Regions from separate parts of the Homo sapiens genome. Here region 1 is linked to region 2. The links are contacts of gene promoters, found by promoter capture Hi-C in blood cells and fetal thymus (Javierre and others, 2016). All regions are on one chromosome and are shown on one strand. The core of a region is centred on a gene start or on the middle of the fragment in contact, and the rest is flanking DNA. Distances in the headings are between cores, read along the strand shown. Region 1 has its middle 18 kb from the start of FNDC1. Region 2 holds the start of TAGAP (T cell activation RhoGTPase activating protein).

Evidence for each region. The method cuts DNA at HindIII sites, captures the fragments that hold promoters and counts their contacts. A CHiCAGO score of 5 or more calls a contact.
Region 1: a fragment that was not itself captured here is called in contact with the fragment with the promoter of TAGAP in region 2 in 2 of 17 cell types (naive B cells and total B cells); the score reaches 7.5 in naive B cells.

Annotation. Positions count from the first base shown.
Region 1 is chr6:159,148,142-159,155,284 of GRCh38, forward strand. No RefSeq gene overlaps it. Among named protein-coding and RNA genes, the nearest start is that of FNDC1, 18 kb to the right of the region's middle. The HindIII fragment of the contact is 6,680 bases long and covers 1-6,663 here.
Region 2 is chr6:159,040,011-159,047,312 of GRCh38, forward strand. It overlaps TAGAP (T cell activation RhoGTPase activating protein), which reads right to left and starts at 4,981. Exons shown (of 10, transcript NM_054114.5): 1 at 4,869-4,981; 2 at 4,110-4,194; 3 at 3,968-4,021; 4 at 3,579-3,645; 5 at 2,068-2,234; 6 at 1,344-1,505; 7 at 713-822. The coding sequence starts at 4,136. TAGAP-AS1 (TAGAP antisense RNA 1) reads left to right here. Exons shown (of 5, transcript NR_183546.1): 4 at 909-1,045; 5 at 1,788-3,046. RefSeq lists enhancers at 642-1,841, 2,415-2,684. The HindIII fragment of the contact is 8,846 bases long and covers 4,734-7,302 here.

The DNA of each region.
Region 1 (7,143 bases), core at 2,074-4,573, 110 kb after region 2:
TATTTTCTCCATAAGGCACAGCACTGCATTCTTGCACTTAGGGACGCTAGACAGCACTTCAGCACGATCTTGGGGGCCATTTTAAACAGCGAAATCACCAACAATGACCACAAAAATTGTGAAAACCATAGCGGTAAAGAAATAGTGAAAAGGACACTTGTTTACACTGTCAGAGCTGGGACAAGAAGGCAGGGTGTCACCTTGTTAGACTTCAGCCGAGAACGTGCCAGTTGGGTGATTCATATTTTGCACCACTCTGCTCATGTCTGAGAATGACCTCGAAAGCACCATGGGCACTGATTTGGGGTCACAATTCAATTCTATAAAGTAGGCTAATTCGCAAATCAGAACCATGAATAATGAGGACCCAGTGTACTTGTGTGATGGTTAATATTGAGTGTCAACTTGATTGGATTGAAGGATGCAAAGTATTGTTCCTGGGTGTGTCTGTGAGGGTGTTGCCAAAGGAGATTAACATTTGAGTCAGTGGACTGGGAGAGGCAGACCCACCCTCAGTCTGGGTGGGCACCTTCTAATCAGCTGCCAGCTTGGCCAGAATAAAGCAGGCAGAAGAACGTGGGAAGACTGGACTGGTTTAGTGTTCTGGCCTCCATCTTTCTCCCGTGCTGGATGCTTCCTGCCCTTGAGCATTGGACTCCAAATTCCTCAGCTTTGGAACTCTTGGACCTTTGGCCACAGACTGAAGGCTGCACTGTCGGCTTCTCTGCTTTTGAGATTTTGGGACTTGGACTGGCTTCCTTGCTCCTCAGTTTGCAGACGGCCCGTTGTGGGACCTCACCTTGTGATGGTGTGAATCAATACGCCTTAATAAACTCCCCTTTATATACACATCTATCCTATTAGTTCTGCCCCTCTGAAGAACACTGACTAATACAACTTGTATGAGAAGACAACTGGCATTGTTCACTGCCCACTTCTGGCTAAAACACTTAGGTTTAGGAGATCATGTGTGGATTTACCCGTCGTAGATATTTGAGCTATTGGGAAGTAAACTGGGAAATAAACTGGCCTAAAGTAGTTTGGTCAAGTTCAACCAAAGTTTGCTCTTATGTATTTCTTACCATTTAAGAAATAGAATTCTGGGTGTTCAAAGTAGATTAAACATTAGCTATTTTAACAAACAGTCCCAAGATCTAAGTGACCTACTATAATAAGGTGTATTTCTTGTTCATATCAGATTGTAATGCAGGACAGAGTGAGGGGTGTTTTGGGACTTAGGGTCCTTCCTCCTGTTAGCTCGGCTGTCCCCAAGGGCCTCAGAGTCTGCTGCTGGATTTTCTCCATTCTACAGGCTGACCACCAGAAGCATGGACAGTCCTGTGGATGTTTTACCAGCCAGGACTGGAAGTAATGTATGCCACTTTCATTACACTCCACTGGCCAGAACTCAAACTCAGTCACATTCCCCACTGAGCTAAATGCAAGGGGTCTGAGAAATACAGGAGGTTCCCAAGTCTAGGTGCATGTTCCCTCTTGCTGCGGTAACACATTGCTACAATCGCAGGGGCTTCAAACAACACAAATGTTTCCTCTTACAATTCTGGAGGCCAGAAGCCCAAAACGCATCTCACGGGACTAAATTCTAATGGGATTGCCAACCCTGAGAATCCACGTGGGTGAGACTCTTGAAGAAGAGCAGGGAAGGCGCCAGCCATCTGAAGCAAGCATTCAGCCAGCATCATGTAAAGCCCTGTGGAATATTTCCCAGAGAGGCCTCTAGAAACTCACAGAGGCACGCATGAGAGTGAAGCAAGCCTAAAACATTTCCAGCTGGGCAAGAACATTCCTGTTCCTGTTCTTCCTACTCCTTTTCCTACCTTGACTCTGGAAGGGTCTGGAAAAATCAAAGGAAAGAAGAGAAGGCTTCGCACTCTGCAGTCTTCCAGGTACAGCGGGCTCCAGCTGGGCGGTGGCAGAATATCCAATTTTAAATCCTTTGGAATTTTTACTATTACATACGACTTTTTTTTTTTTTGAGACAGAGTCTCACTCTGTCGCCCAGGCTGGAGTGCAGTGGCGTGATCTCAGCTCACTGCAACCTCCACCTCCCGGGTTCAAGCAATTCTCCTGCTTCAGCCTCTTGAGTAGCTGGGATTACAGGCATGCACCACCGCACCCAGCTAATTTTTGTATTCTTAGTAGAGATGGGGTTTCGCCATGTTGGCCAGGCTGGTCTGGAACTCCTGACCTGGTGATCCGCCCACCTCGGCCTCCCAAAGTGCTGGGATTACAGGCATGAGACACTGCGCCCAGCCTATTACATAGGATTTGACATTTTTAGTCACGGAATTGACACAGTGTTTCTAACTTAGAGCAACCTTAGAATTTATTTATTACTCACAAATTCACAGGAGTCGTGACACTGCCTGAGTTTCCTCCCTGAGTCGGGAAGAACTTTTCCCACTCCCACTGTACATATTTTAAAGAAACAGTGAAAGATAAAAATAAGGAAGTTTCCTTATTAGATCTCATGAGTTTTCCTGTTCAATGTGTATCCTTTATAGTTCTACAGAAACATGTTTAGGCTTCACAAGCTCTTCTGAAACTTCCTTTATCCACCTGCTGATATGCATTCGAGAGCTTCCTGCATCCGTGTAACTTCAGTCCATTGACTTTAGTGGCTCTCAGAATTCTACAGTCTGGATGGACAATACTTTACTTAACTACTGCTTTATTGATGTGACTCTGTATTCTTTTTACTTTTATTATTAAAAGTAATATTGCAAAAATACTATCCATCATCTGTGTGACAGCCATATTCTTTGAACACTGCGTGTTTTCTGTTTTTTACTTAATTTAGCCAGAGTGTGTCTCTATTGTTTGCCAGTGATATAAAGGTTTCTCAAAGCGGGTAAACCTTGGGCTGAGTCTTTAAGGGTGAATAGGTGTTTCAAGCAGCCCAGGACAGGTGCAGAGGGGGTGGGATCATAAAACACGTGATGAAACCAGTGTTGGTTCTGAATGTCCCCAATCCCTCTAATTGTTCTCTAATTAGAAGGATTTGTCAAAATATTAAATGAACATGTTCTTTATATCTGAGGTAGCAAGTTGGACTTCTACCAGCGGTCTGAAAAGTCACTGGAGTGGAACTGCTATATTGCAAAGAAGATTGAGCAAGTGTTGTTTTTATCTGCCTGTCTTCCATTCTCTCTCTTTCTGATAATAACACCTCCATTTTCTTTTGGGGGAAATGGAGATGTAATAAGAAAATATCTCTAATTTTTGTCTTCTGCTTTTCTGTTGACACAAATCCATGTGGTTTGTGCTTGTCCGGCGTCCAGAAAACTCTGTACGCCGCCCTCTTGTGGAGAAGGGAGGTCATGCCACCCAAACTAACCCAATCAGATGCTTCCTCCTGGGAACTTGAATTTTTAAGAAACACAAAAATGGAAAATTATTGGAAATGATTTGTCCAGAAAGAGGTGCCTTAGAGAAATTGGCAACTGTTTCTGCCCTAGAGCTTTTCTGATCTTGTTTTTCTGGAGACCTTGTTATTCAGCCTTTTCTTTAATCCAGGGAGCTCTTCCATATTTTTCAAATATCCTGAGTTTTTTGTTTGTTTTTTACTTCATTTAGCCGGAGTGTGTCTCTATTGTTTGCCAATGATCTAAAGGATATGTTCGTTTAGTATTTTGACAAATACCTCTAATTGTCTTCCAATCGGAGGTAGCATTTGTATTTCTACCCACAATTGGAAGCGTCTGGGCTTCATTTTTATTTTGATTTGTTTTAAATAGTTCTGTTGTGTTATGAACAGAGAGTCTCCTCTATTCAATCTTCCTAATACAATACCACTTCAATTTCCCGATAGAGTGATGTTGCTTACTTCCAAGTGAGAGAAATGCTGCTTGCTGTAGTGGGTTGGCCAACAAATAAATTATTTATTATTGCCAAAAAAACAACTGGTTTATATTAACTTGCCAGAGGCATAACTGATAAAATGATCTAGTGTCAAATTAATTTCATTTATAAGTGAAGTGATTCGTAAGGATGTGAGCCACAAACTTGGACACTAAGTATTCCAAAACCAAGCATTCTTACATGATCACCTTAGCAACTGTAAATAATGACATCACCAGCAAATACCAGCAAAAGAATGGACAGGCATGATACAAAAAGCTCCTTTAATTAACATCATGTTTGCCAATTACTTTATTCTTAGGTAAACCATCTGTAAAAGTAGCATAATTTGTGATTTGAATTGAAGGCATGTGAAAAAGAACTCAGATTCTCTAACTGGGCAAGTAACATCACTAAAGTAATGTCCTGTGTGCACAGAGGGCTCCTTGCCTGTGTGGAAAAAAGTGTCTAGGTGATTTTTGGAAAATCTAAATAAAGCAAAGATGAACATAAGTAAAGATGAACCACAGCGAGTACACAATCACCAACAACTGTGTGTACTGGAGACAGTGTGAAGAGATGAAGCCATGCCCACACCCAACTTCTTGAAACATTTCCTGTAAAATGAATAAAGGAAAACATTTACACATTTGATTTTTGTCTCCTCACTTCACCTACCTTGGTTGAGATTAAAAGAAAATGGAAATTGTCCAGAGGAGAGAGATTCATAGTATTGAAACGAGGACTTTTCAAGGTTTTGCATAGGAGTGTTGCTGAAAATCTTTGACAGCCAATAAATAATGGTAATGTAATGTCAATAAATATATGAAGCAAAATTAAATCAATAACCCCCATATGGTTACAGGATGTTTTATAGGATCTCAGAAAGGAAGATTACTTAAGTAAATAAAGTTGTGTTGTTTTGTTACTAAGATACGTGGAAAAGATTGTCTTTCATGTGCCAAGCAATGCAACGGACAGAAGGAGAAACTGCCAAAGGCCTGAAATAGATAAAAGCTCCTTGCCAAGGCCTCCAGTGTGGAATAGACCTCAGGATAGTGGACATCCATGCTTCTCATATTTCACAATTAAGAGTGATGTTTGCCCTTGGTTCTTTGTGGATGCTATTCATCAGTTTATGAAATCTCTCTTGTGTTTTCAGTTTAAGAATTTTTTTTAAGATGTTGAATTTTATCAAATAGTTTTTGTGCGTCAAATGAGAAGACCGTATGGTTATTCTCTATCATTCTATTAAATGTGGTAAATTACATTTATTCTAATATTAAACCTCTTCTGAATTCCTGGGATAGAGCAAATTTGGACAAGATTAGACTTGGCTGCATTTGGTTGTTAATGCTGTTTAGAATTGTTGTATCAATGTTTATCAGTTAATCGTCTGTAATTTTCCTTCATCATATCATCTTTGTCTGGTTTTGGCATCAAGGCTATATTAACCTCACAAGAATGCTACAAGGGGATTGTTTAGTTTTTCTAAATGAAATGTTCTAATCTTTCCAGATGATTGGAACAATTTTTATTGAAAGGTTTTTAGAATTTGTCCATAAAGTTTTCTGGGCCTTCTATTTTCTTTATAGGAAGATTTTAAACTACTAATTACATTTCTTTAATAATTGCAGGACCGATTGGTCATTCCCATTGTTTTAAAGTCAAATTTTGTAGGTTATAATTTTCCAGGAATTTATTTATTTTATATGAATTTTCAAATTTATTAACATAACATTTGATAAGCAGATGAGGTAATTATGATAGGTAGACAAAATAAGTATGATAATTCATAGCAATCTTCTTTTCTTTTTCTTTTTCCTTTTTTTAAGATGGAGTCTCACTCTTTTTGCCCAGGCTGGAGTGCAGCGGTGTGATCTCCGCTCACTGCAACTCTGCCTCCCAGGTTCAAGCAATTCTCCTGCCTCAGCCTCCCAAGTAGCTGGGATTACAGGCATGTGACACCACGCCCGGCTAATTTTTGTATTTTTAGTAGAGGTGGAGTTTCACCATGTTGGTCACGCTGGTCTCTAACCCAACTCGTGACCTCAGGTGATCCGCCCCCCTCGGCCTCCCAAAGTGCTGGGATTACAGGCAAGAGCCACCACGCCTGGCCTTTTCTTTTTAATATCTACTGTTTGTGTAGTTGTGTCTCTTTAAATCTTACTACTCTTCATTTGTGCATTCTATCTTTTTAAAAAATAAATATCATTAAATATATGGCAATTATATTAGTCTTAGCTAAGAACCATTTTTTTTGCATTACGCCCTCCATGGTACCTTTGTGTTCCTTTTCACTAATGTCTGCTAGTATCTTAATTATCTCCTTCCTTTTTTTTTTTAAAAAAAAGAGTTTGTTATCTTCCCCTAACTTTTTAACGGGGTATTCAGCTTATTTTCAATCCTTTATTTTTAAATACAAGGTATATTTAAGGCTAATATATAGCCTTACATTTAAGGCTTTATATTTCCCTCATATATAAATATTAAGGCTATATATTTTCTACTTTTGCAATATCCTACCAGTTATGATACGTACAAGATTTATTATTGTTCAGTTCTGAGCATTTAAAAGTTTGTGTTATGATTTTGTCTATGTTTGATTTCTGAAAATATATTTTAAATTTTGATTTTTAAGTCTGACTTCATTGCACTATAGTGAGAGAACATAGTCTAGATGTATAATTTTTTTTTTGAAATTTGATATGGCTTTTTTATAGCCTAATTTATAACCAATTTTTATAAATGTTCCATGTGTGCTTGAGAACAGTGTGTATTCTATATATGACCATTAAACCAAGCTTAAACTAAGCTTTGGAATTGTTCGGTTCAAATTTTCTATACTCTGCTACTTGATCTGGTTTATCTACCAATAACTGAAGAAGGAATGTTGAAATCCTATTCTTTATTTAGAAGTTAGACACTATATTTTGTAGTTGTTACTCTTAAAATTTTGCCATACTTAATGAAAAAACTATACAGTTTACTTTCCATTTTCCCTGCTGAACAATAGAAATTCATTTGCACATGCTTAACAACACACACCCAACTGATTTCATTCTTTTTCATTCTCATCTTTTGTGTATTGTCTTTGGCTGGGCATGATGGCTCATGCATGTAATCCCAGCACTTTGGGAGGCCAAGGTGGGCGGATCATTTGAAGTCAGGAGTTCGAGACCAGCCTGGCCAACATGATGAAACCCTGTCTCTACTAAAAATACAAAAATTAGCCAGGCGTGGTGGCACACACTTGTAATCTCAGCTACTTGAGTGGCTGAG
Region 2 (7,302 bases), core at 3,731-6,230:
TGTCTTCAATTCTATACATATGTCATTGAAAGTATTTAGCCATGTGGGACAATTATAACATTTAGATAAACTTTCATAGGATGTGACAACCATGCTGACATTTCAAAGCTTGGGTTTTAGAATTCTCTAGTCACTAACAGATCACACTTTCCATTGCATATGTTATTATTTTTACTCTCACTGGAATGTGTTATTATATAGTTTTCATTTGGGTTAATTATAAGAAGATGAAATATGCTGTGAAGTTTTATGAACAAAACAACTGCCCCCCACCACACTGTCTGGCTGCATCCTGAGGGATGTTTTATGGGAGAACTGTTGCCTTGCATGACACCAGTCAGTGTAGCTTAAAGATAATCCCGAATTTCTACACTTTGCTGGTGAGCCTGTGTTAAAGTTCTCAGGTCTGATTTTATCTCATACCTTTTTGAACATCTTACATTTTCAGACTTCCCTACCTCTTGGGATTTGTGAGGATTGAAGTTCGCTTTCTACTTTTTGAAGAAATATTTCATTTGGCTAAAATTAAAATTCAAAAGTCCAGGGCACCCTCTGGTTTTTGTTCTGGGAGTGGACGAGCAATTCCACTCGGATTCCCTAAACATCACAATTCTCATGGAACAGGGATCATGAAGCATTTAGAAAGCTGTGTAAAGAATCAAAAGACGGAGGTGATGTGGCCTGGCAATGACCGATGACTTTGATGACTTACTGTTTCAGGGCCTCGATTCTGTCCTCCTCGTCCTGCATCTCCAGAGCACCCATCCACTCCTCAAAGAGGTCGCTTGAAAGTAGCTTCCGGGGGATACTTCTGAGGAAGTCCTGGGGGATGAGAGTGGGCTGTTGGCCTATTGGTACTGTATGATGTCCCATGTCCTTGTTTTCACCCGGTTTTCGTTCCATCGCAGGGTGCTCTATGCTTAGCCCATCATAGATTGTGGCCCTTCATTCCTGCATTTGATGAATCCAGGGAACCCTCTCTCCAACACCCTTGGCCTCTCTGCAACTTTCTAACATCAGGCAGAGTCAGAGGCACCATCCCCAGGTGGGTGTGTTCTGAGGGGCCACTGGATTTTGACGTATGGATTCTGCCACGGAACAATCAAATTGCCCGTACTTGGCAAAGTTTTGGGAGAGCAGAATGCATCACTTTCTGTTGGAATCTGAGGTCACAGAAACAGAGGTGCTTACTAAATAAATAAATAAAGGGCTTAATGAAAAAAATTAAACTCCAAGATCAGTGTACCTTGCTGTGTGGGGAGAAGAGCCTATTTCTTGCATCCTGAGAATGAGTGTGTCAGGGCCCCTTGGCAGGTTATTTGGCGCAAGTGTGTTGAACTCACCTTAAAGACCACAGCGAGGAGGTGCACGGGGAGCCTCTCCAGATCCACCGCATCCCCAGAGTTGAGCTCCTCCTTCAGCTCCTTACGGGCTTTCTCGTTGGCTGCTCTCCTGAATATCCCTTCCGTTGAAGGGCCTTTAAGGCATAGAATAGTGAGAATGTCCTAAAGGAAACAGCAATAGGAACAGGAAAGGGTTACCCTTCTTCTTTAGTATACTGAGATAGTCTTAACAGGAATATTGATGTCAGATTTTGCTTTCAGTCCAGTTGCTGTCAATGGCCTTCCTCAACCCTGCTATTTTTCTAAGAGGAGGCAAATTGTGAAAGCTCTAATTTTGCACTTTCTAAAATCACTTTGGAGCTCTCTCCTTTCAAATACTTCCATATGAACATTGGATTTCAGATCACAAAGTCTATATTCTGTTTCCCCCTTTTGACTTTTCAGAAGCTACAAATCTTCAGCATTCTCCACTCTGTGAAGTCAGAGGAATGGCGGGACCATAGCTCTGAGCTCATTGGCAAATACAACTAATTTCAATTTCTGGAATGGAAGCAGTCAGATATTCTTCTGACTGCACGCGTATGTGGGAGTGCCATGTTGAAGAGTGGAAAATATGGAAGATCAGTCCCTACAAACTTAATAGGAGAATGACATTCAGATTTCCCGAGTATTTTGCATGTCCAACTGAAAACTGAAGTAGGTTTATGAGAGAATGCACGCCTACCTGGATGGGTCTGGGGAGTGTGTCACTGTCACCGCAGATAATTGACAAGGGCTGATCAAATAGCGATGCTTTCAAGTCTGTCTCCAAAGCCCCAGAAAAATCTGATGCAGGGGAGAGCCTTCTCATGAGAAAGGGCCAGGACAGCACCTTCTTTCTCTTCTTAACTTCTACAGCCAAGAAAACAAGGCAACGAGAAAAATTAGACTACAGTGTTAAGAAGCAAAGATCCAGGTAAGAAAATGGGTATCGTTGGCCGCATAATGTGGTCAATAGTATGCGATGTGAGAAAAATAATTTTGAAAACTTGAGAAAGCAAAGGGCGTGAATCTTAATCTAGAAAAACCAACCGATAAACAACCACACTGTTACCAGGGCAACCAGTTCCCTAAACAGCAACACCAGAGTTCCTCAAGGCCTCCACCTTTCCTGTTTTCACTCTTTCCAGCTGTTTGCTACAGAAAATTAGCAAAACCTAACTGTGCTGATCATAAACAACCATCTTAACCTACTGGCCTGAATAACTATAGAGGAAATTTCTGATATGAAATAGATTATTTTGATTTCCTCCTTTAACTGGCGAAGAAAACGAAACTTAAAAGGTGAGGAAGTGACTTGCTGAATATCTTTTCGAAGGCACATAGCAGGGCTGGCTCCAACCCTTTGCAGCCACGCAGGCACTAAACAGCCACTAGAGGGAGCTAACACCATTTTTCCTTCCAGGTGACTGGTCACCTTGGGTTTTCCAGGTTGCTGCTTTAGGACAGAGGCAAATACGAATCGCTGCGGGAAGCCTTGAACCTAGATCTGGCAACTGGGAATTATCAGCAAAACGTTATCAAGATATTCTGTCCTTCTGAAATCCACAAGATGTGTGTGCAATGGATATTGCAATCTCAAACATTTCCTTCTTTCTTTTCTTTTCCTTCCTTCCTTCCTTCTCCTTTCTTACTAATTATAAAGGCTATATTTTCTAAATGCATTGGCATCTGTTTCTATACATTTCAGATTGGCAAGTGGAAGCATGATGAGAAAGAAGTGGCCTGTCTTTATGGTTCAGGAGAACTGGGTCAGGGTTACGCTATAATGAAATGCATTATGAAAAAAGTTGAGAGTGAATGGTGGGTCCTTTGGGATTTGAGATCAGCAACAGTTGCTTCATAGGCTCTTGGATGCATTCTCCATAAGAGAAGGAAGAAAATGGAAAAGACACTGTGTGTTTTTCAAATGTGTGCATGCTAATTGTCGAAACATACATGGCCAGGAGATTGAACCGCATTAAAAACGCTTGGCAGAACTGGGGATTCTCTATGGAGAGGCTCTTTCCTTTCCCAGCACTCCCTGCTCTAGTGAGTTGGAGCATACCTGCCATTTAAGGGTTAATGTTCTGCGGTCTTTAACAGAACAACTTATACAAAAAAATTCCTAGTAGAGTAAAAGCGCTGTGGTTTTGCAAACCAAGAGCACTGGTTGTTAGCACTTACATAAAAGATCGGTATGTTTTTAAAACTCACCAATGAGCTGGCAAATACTGTCTTCACTCTCACATGATGCCAACAGGGGATGTTCCTTGATATCACCCTAAAAACATTTTTATTTCAGTTAAATATAGTGACTGAAGAAACCTATCGAGTCTTTCCCCACAAAACACACATACAGCATTTTATTCATATTAAAAATGAAGTCAGTAGAGTGCATTGATGTTTTTTCTAGCTTCTAGAAGCAATATTAAGGTCTTGATTGTCATCATATAAGATCCTAATTAATGTGCTTAATTTACTACATGTGTGATGTTAGTTTACTACTCTTATAATTACTATTCAACCCAAATAATATTCAATTAAAACAAAGTTTTCCACCTTCTCACAGTACAGATAAAAAGTCTTAAAAATTGCTTTCTTACCTCTGATTGACATTCGATTAGTGTCTCCATATTATTGGCGTTTAGTGTTTTTGACTAAAAGAGAAAAAATAAAATTAGGTAAATATCTTTTGGCCCTTGCCTGTAGGAAACGTGAATGAATGAATGTGAGAGGGGCACTCACAGCATTGTGGCTGCTTCTCAGCTTCATCAGTATTGCGGCTGACTGTCCAGGGGTGGATTTCACTCCCGTGTGGCTGTGCCTCTGTCTACAACGAATCACATGGAAAGGAGTTAGGAGGGACTCACACAGTAGGCCACTTTCAGCGCCACTTTGCCAAAGCACAGAGTTTGAAACTATTTATTTATTTTTCTCTTTTGCTATTTTTTCACTTGCCTTTACTTTGGAAAAAACTATTACATAGACAAGTTTTCATTTAAAATCAGTTCTGTTACCAGATGTTGTATGTTGTTAAGAGCAGCATCTGAACACAATTATTTCTAAATTATTTAAGTCAACTATCTTTACCACTCTAAACGTTGTTACCAATTTATTCCGTTCCATCAAGAGATAATCTGGATATCAATTACGTTAACATTTTAAATTAACATGAACATTAACTTTTTTGGTGGAGTGCTGACTATATGCCAGCTGTCGTAGTAGGTGCTTTGCATGGATTTTCTCATCTAATCCAAAAAGGAAAAAAAAAAAAACATATCCCTAGGATGCTAAAATAGTAAACATGAAACAAAGATAACATTTACAGAACTCCTACACCAAAAAGGTGCAGCCTTCACGTTGAAGCAAAGCTTTGTCCTGAGACTTTATAAAGTGAGAGCATATTCCACGGGATAGCTGTTTTCTGTTGCCTGTGATCTGAGTGACCTGTGACTTGCGAGGCAGCTTGTAATTTCTAGGCATGTTAATATATAGTGTACTTACCCTTGGAGGGTCTCTAGCCAGAGTTCTTTTACATCCGGTGAGCTGTAAAGAATGGGAGAAACAGCATAACTCTCTGCTCCTTCTAGTCCACTGGGAGAGAGAGAGACCGAGCCGGTCTCCCTTCACATGCTCTGCATTATAAGCGAAGGGGCGGGCAGGTGGAAATTCAGAATATTACAGAGACCGGAAAGAACATCATGGGCTGTCACACGGACGGAGCCAGCCAGACACTGGAGAGCTCTCGCTTCCTCATTCCTTTTAGGGCAGCTATGTCTTTTTTTTTTTTTTTTTTTTTTTTTTTTTTTGTGTCTTCCACTTCAAAGTAAAAAATCTGTAAACTACTAGGAGTGGAAAACATGACATTCAGCCCATAGGTGAAGGCTCTGATTAATGTCATAGGTGGGATGTGTGAACAAGAAATTGTGTTATTCTGTGCATAAACATCACTTTATTTTCTAAAGTGGTAATTTCAAGTGCCTCTTTTTGCATCCTGTTTGGGTGCTCTTTCCCCTCCCACGTGCCATCTGCTCTGTCCACCAGCACCACACGTTGATTAGCACCCCTGGATGTGGGACACTGTTACAGAACCAGAAAGAAACCCAAGACAGTCCCTTCCTTGAGGAACAATCACCGTCCAAAGCCAGGTTAGTTTCCTTTGGAAGTAGAAAGAAAACTCCCTCGAGTCAGTTGTCAATATAGTAACCCCCTCCTCCTTTCTGTAACTCCTGGTCAAAAGTATTGATACTTAATTTACAGTCAGAGCAGCTGTCGTTCTGACACGGAAGGAAAACAAACAAAAAAATTCCTTTGATCAGACCAACTTAAAGTAGGAAAGAGATGGTGAATTTCATTTGTGGATCACTCTTCTGCATAAGAGAATTTCTGATCTTTTCTGTAGATCAAGGGCTATATATGAAACCACTCAAATGCCTCGACACGAGAATGGATGCATAAATTGTGATCCATTCACATAGGGAATGAATGTTGTATAGCACTGATAATGAACAGCCTATGACTATAGCCAACAATATGGTTGGATCTCATAATATGACGCTGAGCAAAAGAAGCCAGACGTGAAAGTGTATATCCTGCCGGCTCCCATTAATGCAAAGCACAAAATTAGCAAAAGTCGTCTGTGCTGTTGGAAGCAAGAGTAGCAGTTTCCCAGAGGGGATGGTAATGACTTCCAGGGGCCAGCGGGGGGCTTGGTGATGGTCCATTCTTGATCTGGGTGGTGCTAGGCTTATGTGCACACTTCCCTATTTATGTAATTTTTCAATAAAAAGTTTTAAAATAACTTGGCTTCATTTATCATCAGCATCTTTAATTTTAAGACTTTTCCGCATTGTCAGTTCTTTTGTCATTTTACTGAAAGGAGGTGATTATGGGGCAGACTTTGGGAAACCGAAGCACAGAGAGGTCGAAATTTGCTCTGTAACTTAGCGGCTCGGTGGGGACCTAGGGACAGATCCTGGTTTTCAGGCTTCCAGCTGGGGGCTCCCTCTCTGAAAGCCACCACAGTGCCAGAGTTCACCCAGTGTTCCCAGGGCAGCTGTAGAGGCCACCACTCTTTCAGCATCCCTCTCCTGCCTTTATAAACCTCCAAAGTGAACTCACTGATTTTTTTAATTGAAAAAGGGCATTTACGCTGTGCCCAGCCTAGTGCTAGGCATATAGTAGGTACTAAATAACTAATTTCTGAATATATACATTTCCTTATAAAATAGCCAAAATAGAATATTACTATAATGTTCTATATATCATAGAATATATATGTGATGTATATTCATTGCTAGTATGTATTTTCTAAACTTTTTTTTTTCCCGACAAACGGACTTTTCAAATTTTTGTAAGAAACTTAATGTACTTACTGTTCTTTCTTTTTTTTTTTTTTTGAGATGGAGTTTCGCTCTTGTCACCCAGGCTGGAGTGCAATGGCGTGATCTCGGCTCACTGCAACCTCTGCCTCCTGGGTTCAAGTGATTCTCCTGTCTCAACCTCCTGAGTAGTTGGAATTACAGGCACGCGCCACCATACCTGGCTAATTTTTGTATTTTTAGTAGAGATGGGGTTTCGCCATGTTGGCCAGGCTGGTCTGGAAATCCTGACCTCAGGTGATCCACCCATCTTGGCCTCCCAAAGTGCTGGGATTACAGATGTGAGCCACTGTGCCCAGCCTCAGCATCTTTTAAAAATACATAACATGAATGGTTTGATGACCTGCAGAAATGGTTACATCGACGGACTTTTCTTTTTCTTCTGGGACCTACCATGCCTAGTTAAGCACCCAGGGAACTATCTAGGATGAAAAGTTAGTAGCAAATACGGCAACAGAATTAGGGCCCCTCCATTTTTTGAAACAGAAATATGTTTTGGCTCTTCTTATTGACACAACTGATGGTGGGAAAGCCCAGAGGGAGGTGCCATCCTTTGG